Regions from separate parts of the Homo sapiens genome. Here region 1 is linked to region 2. The links are contacts of gene promoters, found by promoter capture Hi-C in human tissues and cell types (Jung and others, 2019). All regions are on one chromosome and are shown on one strand. Each heading gives the region's core, a stretch centred on a gene start or on the middle of the fragment in contact. The rest is flanking DNA. Distances are from core to core; before and after follow the strand shown. Region 1 overlaps BAZ2A (bromodomain adjacent to zinc finger domain 2A). Region 2 holds the start of TIMELESS (timeless circadian regulator).

The links. The method cuts DNA at HindIII sites, captures the fragments that hold promoters and counts their contacts. A contact is called where the count stands out against the background at its distance.
Region 1: a fragment that was not itself captured here is called in contact with the fragment with the promoter of TIMELESS in region 2 in 2 of the 25 tissues and cell types used here (H1 embryonic stem cells and dorsolateral prefrontal cortex).

What each region holds. Positions count from the first base shown.
Region 1 is chr12:56,620,799-56,624,780 of GRCh38, forward strand. The region is part of intron 1 of BAZ2A (bromodomain adjacent to zinc finger domain 2A); the gene reads right to left. Among named protein-coding and RNA genes, the nearest start is that of BAZ2A, 7.5 kb to the right of the region's middle. The HindIII fragment of the contact is 4,679 bases long and covers 1-3,982 here.
Region 2 is chr12:56,447,374-56,451,342 of GRCh38, forward strand. It overlaps TIMELESS (timeless circadian regulator), which reads right to left and starts at 2,053. Exons shown (of 29, transcript NM_003920.5): 1 at 1,937-2,053. It overlaps MIP (major intrinsic protein of lens fiber), which reads right to left. Exons shown (of 4, transcript NM_012064.4): 4 at 2,129-3,969. The coding sequence ends at 3,907. RefSeq lists enhancers at 934-1,454, 1,477-1,596, 1,707-1,796. The HindIII fragment of the contact is 11,879 bases long and covers 1-3,136 here.

The sequences.
Region 1 (3,982 bases), core at 928-3,427, 170 kb after region 2:
GATCGACCCACCGCGGCCTCCCAATGTGCTGGGATTACAGCCATGAGCCACTGCGCCCAGTCAGGATTTCCCTAGTATAGTTAACAGCTACTCCTCAGCAGTAGGGGGTCTGAAAGATAAGCATCATGAGATTAATAATCCTTCTTAAGTGCAAGAATTAAAGGAAAGTTCATTCCTTAGTCTCCAGTTAGGTTCCTTCCAAAGCTTATACCACAGAGCAAGGAGGACACTCTTCACTTCAGAAGTCCTGGAAATACTATGCCTAGAGGGCCAATTTCATCTGATCCTCACCTCTCCTCTCCCCAGTTTTTTGTACACCTCCCCTGGTGTGGAGGATACATGCAACTTCCATCCTATGTGCAGTGGACTATATCCTCCTCAATGATGGGTCACGGTTCATTTTTCCATTCTCTATTTGAATCCAAGAACAAAGTTGTGACCTCCTCTCTGCTGCTCTGGAAAAGCACAGCATATCCTGTTTTTGTAAATATTAATAACAACATGTCGATGGCTCACAGAAATCAGAGAATTAAAAAGAATGGGAAGTTATTTAGTATGTGAGATCAGTTTCTCCACCTGTCTCTTCTGAACTGTCATCAGAACCACAACCACTTCATTTACGAGAAGCTTCCTAGACACATAAAATTGTCTTTGTGCTATGCAATGTGGTCAGCACAATGTAGTGGGCTCTAGGTTCAAATCCCAACTCTACTATTTACTAGCTAGCTGTTTAACCTTGGACAAGTTACTTATACTTGCTGGGCCTAAGTTTCATCATCTGTAACAATTTTTGTACCCACTTTTAAGGACTGGTGAGGATGAAATGAGAAAATCTAAATTAGAGCCCCAGCACAGTGTCTGTCATCCAGCAAGCACTCCATAAACGTTAGTTTTTTTTTTTTCTTCTTGAGACAGAGTCTCACTCTGTCATCCAGAGTGGTGTGCAGTGGCATGATCATAGCTCACTGCAGCCTGGAACTCCTGGGCTCCAGTAATCCTCCTGCCTCAGCTTCCCAAGTAGCTAGGACTACAGGTGCTCACCACCACACCTGGCTAATTTTTAAATTTTTTTGTAGACACAGGGTCTCGCTATGTTGCCCATGATGGTCTCAAATTCCTGGCCTCAAGCAATTCTCCCACCTTGACCTCCCAAAGTGCTGGGATTACAGGCGTGAGCCACCTTACCAGGACTACATTAGCTACTATTATTAGACAAACAGTAAAAGACTGTGTAGTTTTCAAAAAGATAATCAGGCCTGGCCAGGCGCAGTGGTTCACGCCTGTAATCCCAGCACTTTGGGAGGCCAAGGTGGGTGGATCACCTGAAGTCAAGAGTTCGAAACCAGCCTGGCCAACATGGCGAAACCCCATCTCTATTAAAATTACAAAAAATTAGCTGGGCGTGGTGGCGGGCACCTGTAATCCCAGCTACTCAGGAGGCTGAGGCAGGAGAATTGCTTGAATCCAGGAGATGGAGGTTGCAGTGAGCTGAGATCGCACCATTGCACTCTAGCCTGGGTGACAGAGCAACACTCTATCTCCAAAAAAAAAAGATAATCAGGTCTAAACGGTCTACATATAAAATAAATATAATTTAAAACTAGGGATGATCCAGCCAGACTTCCTTATATACAATTTGACTCCTGATTTCAGATGTCACTTAAATATGGGAATTAATTATGTCACAGTATGGGAATACGAAAAACATGTGAACACCTCCTCTCAACAATGAACCTAGGTTTATTTCATTTTAACCTTCCTACTCAAGATGCTTTTCACAATAAACCCTAAAGGTAAACTCTGTCCTCCCATCCAGAGCTAGTAAGAACAGTAAAGCAAAGGAGAGCATCTCCCTTTGAACTAATAGGATTTTCACCAAATGAGAAAAGAAATCAGCCAGTGCCCAACCCCTAGAGTAGCAGATGACTCTCATACCAGGAAGTACATTCATTCAAGCACCCAGCCCAGTCCCAGCTATACATAAATGGATCTTTTAAGAGCTCCTATGTTTCATTTATAAGAGTAAGGGACATTGCCCTATAAGCTTGAAGCAATAAAGCCCTCCCCACAGGGCCGAATAGGTTGCTTTTCTCCCAGTTCCAATCAAAGAGCTGCTACTCTGTGGGCCTGTGACATGGTTTAATAGAAAAAGGCTGACAACACCAAGAGCAGTGGCTCGTGTAATCCCAGCACTTTGGGAGGCCGAGGTGAGCGGATCACGAGGTCAAGAGATCGAGACCATCCTGGCTAACACGGTGAAACCCTGTCTCTACTAAAAATAGAAAAAATTAGCCAGGCGTGGTGGCGGGCACCTGTAGTCCTACCTACTCGGGAGGCTGAGGCAGGAGAATGGCGTGAACCCGGGAGGTGGAGGTTGCAGTGAGCCGAGATCGCGTCACTGCACTCCAGTCTGGGCGACAGAGCGAGACTCCATCTCAAAAAAAAAAAAGAAAAAGGCTGACAATGCACAAAGTGTTGAAATAAATATTATATATTGCAACACTGTTACAGGTGTCCTCCCTGACCAATTCTAACCCTCCAGCCTCTGAGGCTACCCCCCAGGACAACAAGACACATTAACACCCTCCAGCTGGATACTGCAGTGGTCCCTGCAGCTCTTGGGTTCATTCTTCTCATGTAGTACATCAAAATCTCACAAATGGGGTTGGGGGGTGAGAGAGATTTCAAATGTTTATCTTGACTAAACAGCAAAGGCAAATTCTAGAGTAAAAATCACACCACTACATTTTAGCTTTGTAATTGTGAACATCATGAAGGATATTTCTTAACTCTACACATCTCTGGATTACCCACCACACTCTAATACAGAGGTTCTCATCAGGGGCAATTCTGCCCCGTAGGGGACATTTAGTAATCTCTGAAGGTATGTGCTACTGGCATCTAGTAAGCAGAAGCCAAAGATGCTGCTAGGCGTCCTTCAACAAACAGGACAGCGCCCCCCACAACGAAGATATTATCTGGCCCACGTTATCAATAGTGCCAAGGCTGAGAAACCCTGTTCTAATGTAAAAGCTGTCCCATTCCTGCCCCACACCTTGGGAAAGTTCCAAGTTTTCACTGTTCCCAGTTCCTGACACTGCAAATGAGGACGCTTTGGCTTTTGTATCTAAAAACCTCATCTCCCTGGCTAAGCCATGTTCCTCCACCAATAAGAGTTCCATGTAGGCTGGGAGAGGTGGCTCATGCCTATAACCTCAGCAGGATCACTTGAGGCCAGGAATTCAAGACTGGCCTGCGCAACACAGTGAGACCCTATCTCTACACTAAAAAAAAAAAAAAAATTCCAAGTACCAAGCCACAGAATAAATATGCCCTCTTCTCCAATCACGATAACCCATTCTGAGTGCCCTAGTAACAAGCTTCCCTTGAACTCTGACTCGGACAAACTATATCATATACTGACTGAGGCTCAAAATATCCATCCTCTCCTTAACTACCTTCCCTAGTCAGGACTCCAAGTGAGGCAGAACAAAGATAATGAAAGAAGGAAGATTATACTAAGAGGGGGCTACTCAAAGAAAACTGTCACGTCCAGGCTGTTCAGAAGAATTCAAAGATGACTGTTCTCTGTCCTTATTTCTTCTACATTATGTCGGTTCCACAGCATCAGTTGGATATAAGTTCCACCATTATATCCCTAGCACCTAATTTAGTGCTAAGTATACAAAAGAACCAAAGGAAATATTTGTTGAGTCCATGGACTGAAGAAATGAATGAGTAAATCTACCTTTTCTGCCACTACCAGCTTACTTATCCAATGAAGGTCATGGGCTTTGCTCTTACTATTTTCAGAGAACAAAAAAAAAAAAAAAAAACTCAGCTTCATTCTTCACAGAGATAAAAATTTCAAGAGAGAAGAAAGGCCTCAAATCTTGACGTACTTAAATAGCCATTCCTTGAAGAAAATAAGGCCTGAAAATAGGGAAGTACTGATAATGTAAAAAGCCAATAAATTAGCTAG
Region 2 (3,969 bases), core at 803-3,302:
TCATCATTACGCAGCACAATGTAAGTGCTCAATAAATGCTTTACTAAATTGAACTGAAACAGAGAAGTCTGGAAGATGAGGGAGAAGAGTTTGGAGCTAAAGATTTGGAGGCATCAGGATGTAAGATGGTGTGAGTGCAGTGAGAGGAGGAAGGAAGCCAGGAAGGACTTCTTGATGACCCTTTCACTGTAACCACAGAAGACTCAATTACATGTGTTTTCCTTAGGACTTGAGTTCCTTAAGGGTCGGGAACTCTCCATCCTACTCATCTCTGTAAGCCTGGCGCTAAGCACAGTGCATGGTACATGTTAGGAGCTCAGTAACCTTTTATTGATCTTTTATTGAGCTGTATCAGTGCCCCTGGTAATAGAGGGGGGTAAAAAACTTCAGGGACACACAGGAAGAAGTGACTAACTTGGCATAGGAAGCTGGATACATTGATTTTCAGAGGGACAATTAAGCTCAGTCTTCAAAGAGAAGTTCGCTTGGCAGAGCAGTGTCAAGATCTTCCAAGCAGAAGGAACAGCAGGAACTAAGTACTGAGATATGAAAGAGGGCAGCCACAATCTTTCCACGTGGCCAGGAGTCAGGTGCGTAAGAGATTTACAAAATGAGATTGAGAGGGTCAGGGCCAGACTGAGAGGCCACAGACACCCACCTACGGATTTAAGGCTAACTGTGGGTGGTCAAAGAGGAGTTTTAAATTTAACATCAGATGATCTACCTTTACTTTGTACAAAGTACTAGTAGGGCCGGGTGTGGTGGCTCACACCCGTAATCCCAGCACTGTGGGAGGCCGACGCGGGCGGATCATTTGAGGTCAGGAGTTCGAGACCGGCCTGGCCAACATGGTGAAACCCCATCTCTACTAAAAATACAAAAATTAGCCGGGCGTGGTGGCGGGCAGCTGTAATCCCAGCTCCTGGGGAGGCTGAGGCAGGAGAATCGCTTGAACTGGGGAGGCGGAGGTTGCAGTGAGCCGAGATCGGACCACTGCACTCCAGCCTGGGCGACAGAGCCAGACTCCATCTCAAAAACAAAACAAAACAAAACAACCAAAAAAAACAAACAGGCCAGGCGCGGTGGCTCACGCCTATAATCCCAGCACTTTGGGAGGCCGAGGCGGGCGGATCACGAAGTCAGGAGTTTGAGATCATCCTGACCAATAAGGTGAAACCCCCATCTCTACTAAAAAAAATACAAAAATTAGCCGGGCATGGTGGCGCGCGCCTGTAATCCCAGCTACTCAGGAAGCTGAGGCAAGAGAATCGCTTGAACCCGGGAGGCGGAGGTTGCAGTGAGCCGAGATGGCGCCACTGCACTCCATCCTGGGCGACAGAACGAGACTCCGTCTCAAAATAAAATAAAATAAATAAAAAATTGAAAGTACTAGTCGAAGCACGAATGGCAAAGAATTGAGAGGCTCAAGGAAAAAAGCTTCATTAGCGGCTGAGGTCCAGGTGACAAACCCGAACAAGGCAACGAAGGGAGGGAGTGAGAAATCCGTTCCATAAAACCCACGATATAAGTAAAGCGGCCTGTGAATTCCGACCACTGCTGACCGCCAGGCCACACACCGGTTTTTTTCAGGAGGTCTCAACTAGATGCTAAGCTCCGAAGTGGAACTCCCTCAGGCACTTTCTGTTCTAATTCAGGAATTCCAAGCCCCTTTCCATCACAACCCCATCCCGCGGGAGACCCAAGCTGTGCGGAGCAGCGTAGGGCTAAGCCCGCGTCCGGTGAGACCCGGGAACGCGGCGCGGGAGACTAAGGAGCAGAGTACAGAATTGCGCGTGCGCGCCTGCAGCACGAGCCCCGCCCCCTGGCTCTAAACCGGGTGGCGGGAAAAGGGACTCAGCGTTTCCCGAGAATGCCCCCATAGCTTCGAAAGGATCCCCGTGTCCGCTTAGCGCCCTCTCGCCACACACTCACTCACCCGCTCCCTGCGGGTCCTCAGAAGCCCGGAGGAGCCACCGGCCCTCTGGCGCGGGGCCGCAGCCTTTCCGCCACCAGGCTCAGCTGGACCGGTCCCCGCCTGCGCGAAGAGCGAGGCGGGGCGAGCCGGGCTGGTCCACGTGACTCCGAGCGAACTGGGGCGGAGATTGGTGAAGAAGGAAGGAAAAGGGAAGCGAGTGCAGGGACTGTTTTATGTGAGGTCGATCTAAAAATCACAGCGCTATGAATTTTCTGCTGAATTATAGTAGAATCAAAGTCCGATTAGAGGTGAATTTACAAACATTCTTCCCCTTCTTCTAGTCAAGCGGACTATTCCAAGTCTTAAATAGTTAGTTAGAAAAGTTAGGTTTTATTTGGGAGGAAGTAAAGAGCTGAAGTACAGGGAGGAATGGTCTTCTGGGATAGGGGATGTCCGTTGTATTATAGGTATAAATTTAAAGCTTTCAAAGTATGCAAGAGGCTCATAAAAGGAAGAAAGCAACCGTAAATATTCATTGAACAGTTGAGGGTCTCTTCTGGCCTCTGCTGAGATGATCTTGCCAAAAGGAAAAGAAAATAGGGCTGTGCTCTGGCCCCCTGTAATCCCAGCTACTGGGGAGGCTGAAGCAGGAAGATCGCTTGAGCCCAGGATTTCTAGACTGTAGTGTGCGATGATCGTGCCTGTGAATATCCATTGCACTCCAACCTGGTCAACATAGTAAGACCCCCTCTCAAAAAAAAAAAGAAGATAGGGCTCAAACAAATAATAATCTCCTGAATTATTAAGCATTTGAATAGAAGGAATCAATTTCTGGGGTATGAGGGAGTTAGAAGAGATTTGCTTCAAGATGAAAGGACGGATGACAGAGAAATGAAAATACACAGACACAAAACAAGAAAAAAAACACGGAACTAGTGATAAAAGCAGAAAGATGCCATTTGAGGAGTGTTTTGATTTGCTCTAAATAAATTAGAACAGAGTCAAAGCCTCTCCCCTCATGCCCCCTACTACCACCCGTTCATTTATTTGCTCCAGGAATCAGATTTCCTGTGTTGGCCTTAGGGAACAATTGTGGGGCTTAAATACCATCTGCCAGGCAGCCACAACAGTGGATGTCAGGCTGACCAGTTAAGCTGCTTAATTTTTCTAGATTCTAGGCTTGCCCAAGCTCTATTTAGGTTGGAAGCTCTTTGGCCCAGGACCTCTGAAGAGATCCATTATGTCAGAATGAACACAACCAGCCAGCGGATGTAGACAGGTTTACGTGGCTTTACAGAACAGCTAAATCCTAGTGTTCACTTTTCTCAGAGCTACTTCCCCACCCAAGTCCCTGGGGCAAGCATCCCTAAGATAAGTAGGCTATATATTCCCATTAACTTCCCCCCAATTCTTCGGTACACCTACATCCTGATCTGGGGCTAATACTCCGTTTTCACCACCCACCTCCCTTGAGTCCCTTCTCCTAACCCTTGGAAGCCTTGTCTCCTCCACTTCTCTCCATCTGCCTCGTGTGAGGAGTAACTCCCTGCTTCTCTGTTCCCTCAGAAATCAAGAGCCACACACTTGACTGGCAGCAGGGTAAAGGCCAGAAACTTAAGGTGTCGGTTACCCAGTACTCACCATACTGGGTCGAGGAAGGGAGGTATAGGATGGCACCTCTTTTTGCTTCCTTAGCTCTCATGCCCCAAAACTCAGACACAGCCACACTCACATTCATATGCACAATCAGCACACACGGCGAAGGGTGGTGGGATGGGGAGGAAGGGAAGTTTGCACCAACCAGCTCATGAATGCAACTTGAAAGATTTCACACAGCAAAAGGAAAAAAAAAAAAAAAACAACCACATACATAAGTTAAAAAATAAAGAAGTACATGACCCTCCCCACAGTCTCTTTCTTCATCTAGGGGCTGGCTAAACCCCTCCACGTAAACTCAGAAGCTTTCTACTCCCTCTATTCAGCTGGAGCTTCTACAGGGCCTGGGTGTTCAGTTCAACAGGTTCCCCTGTGACCTCTGGTTGTCCATTGGAGAC